Regions from separate parts of the Homo sapiens genome. Here region 2 is linked to region 1. Evidence: promoter capture Hi-C in 16 types of primary human blood cells and fetal thymus (Javierre and others, 2016). All regions are on one chromosome and are shown on one strand. The core of a region is centred on a gene start or on the middle of the fragment in contact, and the rest is flanking DNA. Distances in the headings are between cores, read along the strand shown. Region 1 holds the start of GON4L (gon-4 like). Region 2 overlaps FDPS (farnesyl diphosphate synthase).

What was found. The method cuts DNA at HindIII sites, captures the fragments that hold promoters and counts their contacts. A CHiCAGO score of 5 or more calls a contact.
Region 2: a contact is called between a fragment that was not itself captured here and the fragment with the promoter of GON4L in region 1, in 1 of 17 cell types (naive B cells). The highest score is 5.4, in naive B cells.

The regions. Positions count from the first base shown.
Region 1 is chr1:155,855,964-155,861,541 of GRCh38, reverse strand. It overlaps GON4L (gon-4 like), which reads left to right and starts at 4,328. Exons shown (of 32, transcript NM_001282860.2): 1 at 4,328-4,395. It overlaps SYT11 (synaptotagmin 11), which reads right to left and starts at 1,975. Exons shown (of 4, transcript NM_152280.5): 1 at 1,747-1,975. The coding sequence starts at 1,780. RefSeq lists enhancers at 1,735-1,834, 2,025-2,134, 3,375-3,962, 4,249-4,448. The HindIII fragment of the contact is 10,340 bases long and covers 1,725-5,578 here.
Region 2 is chr1:155,317,847-155,323,727 of GRCh38, reverse strand. FDPS (farnesyl diphosphate synthase) reads right to left here. Exons shown (of 11, transcript NM_002004.4): 5 at 5,707-5,787; 6 at 5,437-5,559; 7 at 4,975-5,063; 8 at 4,800-4,872; 9 at 4,040-4,117; 10 at 3,800-3,934; 11 at 3,063-3,319. The coding sequence ends at 3,119. It overlaps RUSC1-AS1 (RUSC1 antisense RNA 1), which reads left to right. Exons shown (of 6, transcript NR_145424.1): 2 at 1,291-1,485; 3 at 2,033-2,103; 4 at 3,796-3,925; 5 at 5,332-5,463; 6 at 5,723-5,881. It overlaps RUSC1 (RUN and SH3 domain containing 1), which reads right to left and starts at 2,834. Exons shown (of 10, transcript NM_001105203.2): 1 at 2,737-2,834; 2 at 598-2,040. The coding sequence starts at 1,954. RefSeq lists silencers at 3-232, 523-762, 2,743-2,892 and an enhancer at 1,144-2,127. The HindIII fragment of the contact is 2,302 bases long and covers 3,481-5,782 here.

The DNA of each region.
Region 1 (5,578 bases), core at 3,079-5,578:
GCAAGTATATATAATAATACATACACTCGAGGGTATTTGTTAGGATTAAATAAAATGTAGTATGTAACAGGCTGATATAATTTATTTTCCCTTTCCCAATAATAGTCCCTCTAAGAGAAATCACTATATTATGTTCCACACCATCTCCTTTTTTCAAGGATTCTGGAACTGCAGTTAGAGAAAGGAATCTGTTGGAAGGGAATAAGAAGAAAAAGAACAGGAAGAAATCATGGATTGCTCATGTGATCATGAAAGGGACTTTTGTTTTGGAAACTTAGAACTCAAAGAATAAAGATGCGGAAGGTGAAGTGGAAGAAAAAATACCATCAAGATTTAGCCTTGTGGAATAAGTGAGAACAAGTAGTTAATGAGTGTGAAGATCAGTTATCTGAACACATCTGATTTGATTTCTTCTTCCTTATTCTGAGGGGATAGAGCACACTGGATTCTGCTCATTTCACTGTACCTCTTATTCAGGAATGAGAAAAGCCATTTCCTAGCTGGATTGTGTCTCCACCCTAAAAACTGGAGTCCCGATGCTCAAACCTACTGGATTGTCTGAGGGATAGAATCCCTGAAGGAATAAGAAGGTTCTTTGGCAGCAACTCTCACTGGCTTCCCCCATCTAAACTGAATCAAGGAGAAGCAGGGCAATTATATTTTATTTATTTGATCAGGAAAGCATAACACAGGAAGTTTGCTCCTTTAGCATATACTGCAGGAGTCCCCAAAGAGGAAAAAACTTCCTTCTCAAGCTTGTCTTTGCCACCTTCTTCCCTATTTTCCACTCCACTTTCTGCTCCAGAGAGTGTAAAACTAATCTTGGAGCCCACAGGGCTGGGTCGGGGACCAGCCGCTCTGAAATGACGTAATGCTTTCTGCGGTACACAAAGCGGCCTCCCCCGGGCTGGGCCTCTTTCGCCCCTCCCCCTCCGGCCTGGATCGCGCCCCCGCCAGCATCAACGCTGGTCAGTCCCCCTTTTTGAAAAGGCGGCCCAGGGAAACAGGGAACAAAGGCCCCGGAAGGAGAGCGTCGGCGCTGCCAGGAGGCCCAGAAATAGACATCACGTCATCCCCCAGCCCAGCAGCGCCAAGCGCCATTTGGTAGCATCGGAGGGACCCCACCATTACGATGCGGAATGGAGCTTGCAGGGCTCACGTTTCCTCCTAGCCCCAGCATCCAGCTGACCGGCTTAAGGAGTGGCTTCCTTTTTGCTCCCCACCCCGCACCCCTCTTTCCCCAGAGGCCGCCGCCTCCCCTGGCTGCCAGCCACACGGCCCACAGTCTCCAAGCTGCCATCTTGATGCCCCATCCCCCTTGTCACTTCCCTCCCCCGCAGCCCTTAGGAATGGGAGGGGGAGGAAGGGGCACCGCCCTGTGTGCCCCAAGGGGGAGGGCTTGGCCTACCCCACCTCTCCTCCCCCAGAAGGAGGGGTTCACATCCTCCGCACGCTTGCTGTTTCTCACCTCCAGCAGTGCTGACAGTGCACCATACAAGGTTTTAGCATCCTGGACTTCCCCACCCTCGGTGTGGCTCAGGCCCTGCCAGTCCCTGCAGCCCATAGCTCAAGTTCATGCACTGTCAACTGCCCACTACCCACTACCCACCACCACAGGCCCGATTTTAGTGGGGCTGGCATTTTGAAGGCTCTGGTCTGGGCTGCATTCTCTGCCCTGCCGCTGGGCCCCCTTGGCCTTGCAACCATTCTGACCACCTCAAGCTTAGTTTTCCCGAGTCTACTTACCAAAGCTAGGTCGGATATTGGTGATCTCAGCCATGTCGTAATCAGAGGCTGTTGCTATAACGTTTTTGCAATGGTGAGACAGCTCTGGGAACCCTCGGTCAGTACCGAGGCAGCAGCTGTAGAGCTCTAGGTCAGGGAAGGGGGAAGGTATCCAGCGGACGCCTCCTGCGACGGTCCGGCCCCTAGTTGTCAGCTGCGCTCAGCTCTTAAGATGCTCCGGGGATGCGCTGAGCTAAGGATGCAGGTGCAGTCAGACTGGTCCTGATGAGAGGTAGGCTCCGCCTTCTTCCGAATGGTCCTCGGAAGAAGACTCCGCCTCTTCCGAATGGTCCTCGGAAGAAGACTCCGCCTCTTCCGAAAGATTACGGAAGTCAGCCCTCGCCCCCTTCAGGAAGCTCTCCCGGAGGGGACTCCTCCCACCGCCGAGTTTTCCCGAGAATGAGGCCGCGCCCACTGACGCGCTGTGGTTCCAAAACGAGAAAGTACTGAAGGGTAAGAAGCATAGGTAGATTATTATATGAAATCCTCTGATTTCAGTTTTCTGGGCTTTAATACAGCAGCAAAATGTTCTCGGTCCTGAGTTCCAGAATTTTGGGAAAATAAAATTCTGTACTGCCTGGATTTCAGTATCGACTGCCATCATTATGCATTTCTGAGACCGCTAAAGGTTATTACAGAACTTTTTTTTTTGGCTTATATTTCACAGTGGATGGAAACTGTCTTAAACCTCAGAAACTCTGATGAAAGACCAAACCTGGGGATGGTTGCACAACTCTGAACATTTACTAATTTTAAAAAAACAGCCGGGCACGGTGGCTCATGCCTGTAATCCCAAACCTTTGGGAGGCCAAGGCGGGCAGATCACTTGAGGTCAGGAGTTCGAGACCAGCCTGGCCAGCATGGTGAAACCCCCATCTCTACTAAAAATACAAAGATTAGCCGGGCGTGGTGGCACACGCTACTTGGGAGGCTGAGACACGAGGATCGCTTGAGCCCAGGAGGTGGAGGTTGCAGTGAACCGAGATCGCGCCACTGCACTCCAGCCTGGGCAACAGAACAAGACTCCGTCTGAAAAAAAAAAAAAAAAAAAAATTTGGTTGTACACGTAAAACAGATGGATATTGTGGTATGCAAAGCTGTTTAAAAAAAAAAAAAAAAACAACTAATGAAAAGTGCCAAAGTTAATCAGTGTTGAATTTTTTTCATGAACCTCAAGTGCTTAGGGTTTCGTATGAGAGAGGCCAAACCGAAAGATCTGTGTATTCTGTAGGTCAAAGAACAACACACATGAAACTCCGAGCTTCTGGAGTCTTCCTTGGTATTTGGGAGAGTTGGTGTGATTCAGGTTAGTCAGACTACTGCCATGTTTGCATAAATTTCAACCTTCATTTTGGCTGTGGATAATTTCATCCGTTGGATTCTGTTTACAGATAGGATTAGTTCAAATGTATAAATTTGTGTTGGTGGTTTACCTGTAAAATGAGGGGGTTGAAAGTATTTTTCCACCTTTTGACATTCTGTTTTTTATTATTTTTTTAATCTCCGTGGATTCCAGACATTGTTTTTCTAGAAAAGTGGAAATAACATCATTTTAGAAGTCATTCATTCATTCGCTCATTCAAAAAGCACGTATTGAATTATTGAACATCTGTTACACCCCAGGCAGCCTCCTGGACACTGGGTCAATGCATTATTAGCTAGAGTTAGGAGACTTAATACCTGATTCTCCTTGATAGCTGTCTGTGTACCGTTGTGAAATCACCTACTCAGATGAGCCAGAACTTTGTCCTGTGCAAACTGGAATATGATATAATAATCTTACAGTCTATTGTGGAGACCAAGTCACCTAAGAAAATGTGAGAGCATTTTGTAAAATGCAGAATATTGTACATATATGAATAATTACTATAGCCTGAGTCCAAGAGTGCCTTAGTTTTAATCAGGAGCCTGCACTATTTGTAATTTAGAGACTTCTTTTTCTGGCATTTTATGACTTCTTCAGTCCCTTGGTCCTGTGTTCCAGGTGACTCGTAGTGAGAAAAATTAGTTGTTAATCTTTTTTTTTTTTTGATACAGAGTCTCACTGTCGCTCAGGTTGGAGTGCAGTGGCACGATGCCGGCTCACTGCCACCTCCGTCTCCCGGGTTCAAGCGATTCTCCTGCCTCAGCCTCCGGAGTAGCTGGGATTACAGGCGTGCGCCACCACGCCCAGCTAATTTTGTATATTTAGTAGAGACGGGGTTTCACCATGTTAGCCAGGGTGATCTCGAACTCCCGACCTCAGGTAATCCGCCCGCCTCCGTCTCCCAAGGTGCCGGGATTACAGGCGTGAGCCACCGCGCCTGGCCCCCAAATTAGCTGTTAATCTAAACCACTGAATCTTAACCTCAGTTTTGAGTAGGATAACTCCATGGGCAGAGAAAGCTAAGTAGTGCCTTTAAATTTTTTTGCCAATAACTGACGCACTAACGTTGTGGCTTCACTCTGCCCTAAAATGGGATGGCGCATAGTGTTAGGCGCATGCTCCTTGATGCACTGCGGCGCGGCGCTCCGAGGCTCGGGGACGCGCACGCAATTCGCTGTTGTTGGCTGACTTCCGGTGGTGCCAAAGCCGTTTCCGTGGAATCAGGCCGGCTGGTGAGGGTACAGGTTTGTGTGTGGTGGGGTGGGAAGAGGCAGGTGGGAGCTGGGACACCTGGACGAACGATGTCCAGGTTGAGAAGGTCGGGTCTGAGGGTGGGCGCTGGGTGCGTGGCGGAAGTTAAGGGCGTGAAGTCCAGTGTCTAGTTGGGAATGGGGACTGGAGCCAGCCCTGGGCACCGAGGTGGAAGCGCGGTTAGGACCCCTTTTGAAAATGTTTTCCTAGGAGAGGGCCGTGCCGGGGCTGCCTCCACATTGGCATTCATTCACCCTGCTGGTCCGACTTGGGTTCCCAAAAAAGTGGATTCTGTCGAGCTACTGCTGTGTTTGAGGTGCCTGGAGCTGAAGTAGCTGTCTTTCTTTCCTTCTTTTTCTTTCTTTCTTTTTCTTTTTTTCCCCTTTTTTTGATCTCAGTAATTATCTGTGAAATAAAAGAGCTGCCCTGGCTACTCCCATTCTATTTCTTATAAGGTCACCACCATCTCTCACAGGAATCAACGAAATCTTCATGTTTTATTGAGCTTTAGTTACTGAGTTTTAATTACATCAGTTGATTGAGGGGATGGAGAATCTCCCCTAATGTCTTGGAGAAACAGAAGGGAGGTTTAAAACTAACTGTAGGTCGGGCGCGGTGGCTCACGCCTCTAATCCTAGCACTTTGGGAGGCTGGGGCGGGAGGATCGCTTGAGGCCAGGAGTTTGAGACCAGCCTGGGTAACAAATCGAGACCCCGTCTCTACAAAAAAAAAAAAAGAAAAAAAGTCGTTGAGGGTGGTGGCAAGTGCCTTGTAGTCCTAGCTACTCGGGAGGCCGAGGCCAGAGGGTCACTGGAGCCCAGGAGTCTGAGGCTGCAGTGAACTAGGATCTTGCCACTGCACTCCGGTCTGGGCAACAGAGCGAGACCTTGTCTCTGGAAAGAAAGAGAGAGAGAGAGAAAGAAAGAAAAGAAGAAAGAGAAATCTAACCTTAGACGCTTAGAGTTACAAATAACTTTTATTTTTCAGTTCTCTAGTTCAGGCTTTCATCTAGTACTCTGATAAGTGGACATTCAGGCTTCGCTTGAACATTGCCAGTGATCTAACACAAGGCGGCTTATTCTATTATTGGATCTATTTATGACAGTAAAGTTTTCCTGGGTAATAAGATGCCTTTTTTTTTTTTTTTTTTTTTTTTTTTTGACAGAGTCTCCCTCT
Region 2 (5,881 bases), core at 3,382-5,881, 540 kb after region 1:
CTGGCGGGGTGGGGGAGCCGCGGCGGGGAAGGTGCTACTTCTGGGAAAGAGCGGGGACAGCAGCAGTGCCAGCTCGGGGCTGGCCAGGCAGGGCAAGGCTCCCCGAGTCGGAGGCGAATAGGCTCCCACCGGGGACAGGCGGACGGGCAGCAGCTGCTCCTCTGGGGGGCTCGGCGCCCCCAGCAGCCGCAGCCCGGCGCCGGGCCACCCGGCCAGAGGAGCCAGGAGCAGAGACCCAGCTGCGCCTGCGCCCCCACCCTCCAACAGGGGGCGCCCGTCGGCCGAGAACCGGAAAACCAGGGGCCGAGGGAGCAGGAGGGGACCGGCTGCAGGCGGGATTGGCGGGGCCAGGCGCAGAGGGAAGGAGGGCAGCGGGATGGGCAGCCAGGCAAGAAGGGGCGGGAAGAAGAGGGAGCAAACAGTTAGTCCCATAACCCAATGACCCACCCAGTTTCCCTTTCCCGGAGCGCTCCCTGGTAGAAGGGGCGGGGAGGATGGGTGACACAGAATGGAGGGAAGACAGGGGGCCGGGTTGGAAGCCTAGGAGGCGTGAGCGGCCGAAGCCCAGCCCTCCTCCCGCTTCTTGCGACCTCTTACCCTCCAGGCCGGCCTGCGCGCCCGGCTCCTTCGCGGCTGGGGCCTCCTCGCCAGCCGCTGGGCTGACAGCCCGGCCCTCCTCGGACTGCCCCTCCGCTATGGGCTGCAGTCCAGGTCGGTTCTTCTTCCTTCGGGGAGGGACAGGCGGGGGTGGGGGCCGGGGCGGGACCAAAGCCCAGCCAACTGGGGGGTCTCGAGGCGGGACTGGCGGGGCTGGGGCCCGGCTTCGGGACCGGAGTTCCTTGAAGGTGGTGACTTCCCGAGGAGGTGCCGAGGAGCCGCCCGGCGACCCCGAGGGGGGGAGCTCGGTGTCGGGCGAGAAGACTATGAGCCAGTCACTGCGATCTTTCTTCGCCTGCGGGACAAGGGGCAGCCCTGGGCCCCGCTTGCGCTTCTGGGCCAGCTCGTGGAAGGACGTGATTGTCCGGTGGGGCACCGGCTCCTCGCTGACGTCACTTCTCCATCCTCCATCAATTTTCCCTGCATCTGTTTTCGAGCCAGAATCAGTTATTCTTGTGTTGGTTTTCCAACCAGAGTCGAATTTTTCAGGTTCACTTTTCCAGCTAGAGTTAACATTCCCGTTGTTTTTCCAACCAGTGTTATTGTTTTCAGTGGTTTTCCATTCAGCTTTAGTTTTCTCTGTGTCAATTTTCCAAATTGGGTTAATCTTCCAACTGGGCTCCGTTTTCCCAGCGTCGATTTTCCCATCATCCGCCTCTAAGAGCTCAGAGGTAGGGAGATCCTGCTCCGCCCTCTCGTCCTCTTCCTCCAAGCCTGGGGAAGGGACGTCCTGGCAGGTGGTCAGGGCGTTGCAGTTCGAGTCCAGGCCAGGATCGGGTGAAGAAGAAGCTCCGGAGCAGGAATCAGGAGAGCAGCAGAAGCTGTCCGGTGAGCAGGTGCCAGGGCCTGCTGAAGCCAGTGGGGAGCCCTGCTCCAGGGGGATGATACTGGGCTGAGGGTGGGCATCCTCATCACCAGGGAGGTCCCGCAAGTAGACTGAGACAGGGGACTCATCGGGGCTAAGATCTGAGCAGGAGCTGAGTGAGGAGGAGCAGCCTGGGTCTGAGGGAGAGGCAGCCCCCTCTTCCTCCTGTGACGGGTCCTGCCGGTTTTCTAGGCCCGGACCGTGCTCCTGGCAGCACCGGCAGGGCACAGCTGGGCTGTTGGAATTGGCGTCCACCAGGGTGCCACTGCAGGGGCCCCTGCTCTCCTTGCCCCCAGTGTCTCCTGGAGGAGGGGGTGTGCTCAAAGGCCCCTCCTGTAGCTCAGGACGGCGGGACAAGTGCAGGCCCAGGGAGACGTGCTGGAGGTGGATGTGGTTGAGGTTGCAGAGTAAAGCTCTCTGAGGGGACAGCATGATGCTAGCGGCGATGGGATGGCTTCTAGAGAACCAGAAGGGTAGGGTCTCTCACATCCACCTACCTGGCAACCACAGGTGCAGACCTAGAAGACAGAGGTGGTGAAGCCCGGCCAGTGAGGACAAGAGCTGCGGGGAAGGACACCGAGGTGACTTGACGGCAGCAGCAGGCCTGAAGGCTCTGGCTGCTTTGGAAGATATTTCAATGAGATGCAAATCGCAATCGACTGACCATTAGTTTCCACTGCAGTGTTTGCAGATGGAGTCGAATGTAACCCCCCGGGAATGGAGCCGGGAGGGTCAGAGAACGCGGCTGCGCTCTGGATCTCCGAAGGGGGGCGGGGGCCTGGAAGAGGTCCGGGCCCAGAATGGACCTCCAGGTCCCTGCTGCCGCAATCTGGCCCTGCCCTCCAGCCTACCCCTTACTCCCAGAGGAAGGGACCCAGGGAGACCCACCCAGATGCCCTGAAAGGAGGTGGAGGATGGGGGTGGGGCAATACGCAGAGTTTGTCTGGTGAATGCAGGAAAGGGGTGGGGGCTGGAGAGGAAAAGGATGGAGCAGCCGTCAGCTTGTCAACTCCGCATCTGCTGGCTGCCTCGGCCGGGCTCCAGCCTGCGCCCTCGCCCCTCGGAACAGCGGTATGTCCATTCTCTCCGCATTCGTCTCCATCGTTCAGCCACCACCGCACCCTTTCTCTATTCATTTCTCCTGCTCCCTTGTCCTGCCCCGCCCCTCGTGCCCAGGTCCATCGGTCTACACCCATGGGCCGAGCCCTCCTCACCAGGGTCCTCCTGGAACCGCTCCGGCCTTGGGCTTGTCCGCGGCTCCCACGGTCCCCGCCCGGCGGGGCACAGAGCGGGAGGGGAGGGGCACTAGCACAACCTACCCTGCGCTGCGCAGCTGCACCCCTTCGCGCATGGGCGTGGCGTAGCTCAGACCCGCCCCCAGCGTTTAGCGTCTTTTGTCACCCACCTAGAGGGTTTGATATATCCTAAGCTTTTGGCCCCTGGGTCCTGGTTCCGTGCAGCGAGTCCTCCCAGCACCCCACCCTGCACATTCTGGAAAGAGCCAGACTCTGGCTGGGCCGAGCAAGAACAGAACCACAAGAAGGTTACACGATTATTTATTGAGAGCCTCCTCTCCCCGCCCTTGCAATCTCTAGGTCACTTTCTCCGCTTGTAGATTTTGCGCGCAAGCCCCAGAAAGACGGCTGGGGGCAGGGGTGCTGCGTACTGTTCAATGAGAGCCATAATGTGGCTGTAACTGTCTTCCTCATATTGCAAGAACACTGCTGGCAGATCCAGCTCCTCATATAGCGCCTTCACCCGGGCCACTTTCTCAGCCTCCTTCTGCCCGTAATTTTCCTGGAAGAGGTTGAAAGACAGGAAAACGGGCTTGGCCTTCCCCAGAGCCTCCAGGACCCCTCCACTCCCCTCATTCACATATTCCAGAACATCTCCAAAGCCACCCACTCCTTTCCTCCCTCCAATTTTCAAGTGTCTCTACGTAGCTAAAATCCCAAGCTTCCCTTCCCTATCCCAAATATTGCCTCATACCAGGCATCCTCTACTCCAGGGTTTCTCCACCTTGGCACTATTGAAATTTGGGACCAGATAATCCTGTCTGGGGGAGCTGTTCTGTGTACTACATGTTTGGCAACATCTTTGGCTCCTGCCAACTAGATGTCTGTACCACATGCACACACACAGAGTTGTAATGACAATGGCAAAAAATGTCTGCTGACATTGCCAAATGTCCCCTCGGGAGGAAAACTGCCTCTAGTTGAGAACCACTGCTCTATCCCTTTCCACCAACTCAGGGACCCACCACCCTCTCTCAGGCACCTTCAGGATCTGGTACTGTTCTGGAGTGGCCCGTTGCAGACACTGAACCACCAGCCAGCTGCATTTGTTGTCCTGGATGTCAGTGCCAATTTTGCCGGTCACACTGGGGTCCCCAAAGAGGTCAAGGTAATCATCCTGGGCAGGGAGGGGGAGGGCAGCAAAAGAGGAAGGATGAGGTTCCTGGGCAGAGGAGGAGTGAAGCTGGTGCCTGTTCTCTGCTACTGCCTCCTGCCTTCTTACCTGAATCTGAAAGAACTCCCCCATCTCCAGCAGGATCTTCTTGGCATTGGCGTGCTCCTTCTCGCCATCAATTCCTGCCTGCAGGGAAAGGGGGGTTAATAAGCCAAACCCCAGGGGTGCCGGCATCTTCCTGGCTGCTTCCTCCCATGGGGTCTTGCCCTACTGCAGCCCCAAATCTTTCCTCTCTCTTCAGACATCTTGGCTTCCCTGACCTAGACAGTCCTGACTGATGGTCCAACCTCAATCCCACTTATTTTTGGCTAGGCCTTCCTGGGAGTCATAAAAGAGATGAATCCATTCTAGAGGTGCACAGCCTGTCTCTTCCCTCACAAATGTCAGTCCCCAAGTCATTCTGATCCACCTTCCTAATATTTTTGCCACCTCCAACTTCTTTCAAGATGAAAAGGAAATGTAGAGAAGCAAGGTCAGGGTAGACACTTAATCCCACTGACTGTCTTTAATCCACTCTTCTCCCTCTCAACCTGGATGATCTCCACACTCCTATCCATACTCAGATACAGGATATATTGTTCCCCTATTATGTGCTAAGCACTTTCATATCCCTTGCCTTGCTTAATCTTTACAGTCCTGTGAAGTAGGAATTTTATCCCCAGCTGAGGAAAGAGACTGAGCGAGACCGACTTGCTCAAGGTCACACAGTTTTTCACCAGGGGTAGCAGTGTTCACGTTTTCTGCTCTATGCCTTGCTGTCCAAAAGCCCCCATCAGCAGAGCAGAGAGGGGTGAGGAGGCTCACTCACCATGTACATGGCTGCAGCTATAGGAAGGTAGAAGGAGTAGAAAGCTGTCTTGTACTTGACAATAGATTTGTACCTGAGTAAGGGGAGAAGAGAAACTCCTCAGGAGGGCAATGCACATCCTGAGCCCTCCCTCGCTGTCCAGACATGGTTCGCGCTGTCCCTCACCTCCCCTCACCTCTTTTCAGTGAATCTGACAAGATCCACATTGCCCTGGGGGGCTGTGAGGAGGTCCAGGGTCTGCCCAATCTCAGTCTGATAGGAACTCTAAGCAAGACAAAGACGGTCCATGAGCCAGGCTTTCTCCAGATATGCGAAACCCTGGTATCCCAAGCCCAACATCCCATACCAGCTGACAACTGGGCAGAATCAGAAAGGCAACAGAAGGGGAGAAAGCCCCAAAACTTAAGGCCCATATTCATACACACAGTCCTTTATCACCCTTTCTTCCAATTACACAGGACAGAGAAGCCCTTTCTTGCCACTACCACAACCCCACTTCCCAACACCCTTCCTCGCTTTCTTTCCCTTCCAGGCACGCTGCAATCCTGTACCCTGAAACCAGCTAGATGAGCATGTCCTATAGAGGCCAAGGCTACCATGGGCACCCTCTGGGCATCGGGCCCTGTCTGCAATACACCTGCAGGAAGAGCTCGATCAGGTTCAGGTAATAGGGCTGCTCCCGGCAATAGAGCTTCAGCAGGCGGTAGATACATGCTTCCAGGAGGTTAGCATCATTGATGGCATCCAAACCCACGCCCGGCTGTCATGACAGACAGAAAAACAAGCAATCAATCTCTAGTCTCGGTTCATACTAAGAGCCATCACCCCAACACCTCAACCAGGCCATATATAACCACCTCCCTGTGGCCTGTCCCCATACCCACTGCTATTTTCCTGCCCACATTACCTTCTGATACCAGCAGATCTGTCCCCGGCGGGTAAGGGATGAATCCATGATGTCATCTGCCACCAGGAAGAAAGCTTGCAGCTAGAAAGAGTGGAATAAGACCTGCAGGGCTCCTCATTACTGTTCCTTCTATCAGCAACAGAGCTGCTACTTTATATCTGTATATAGTTTTGCT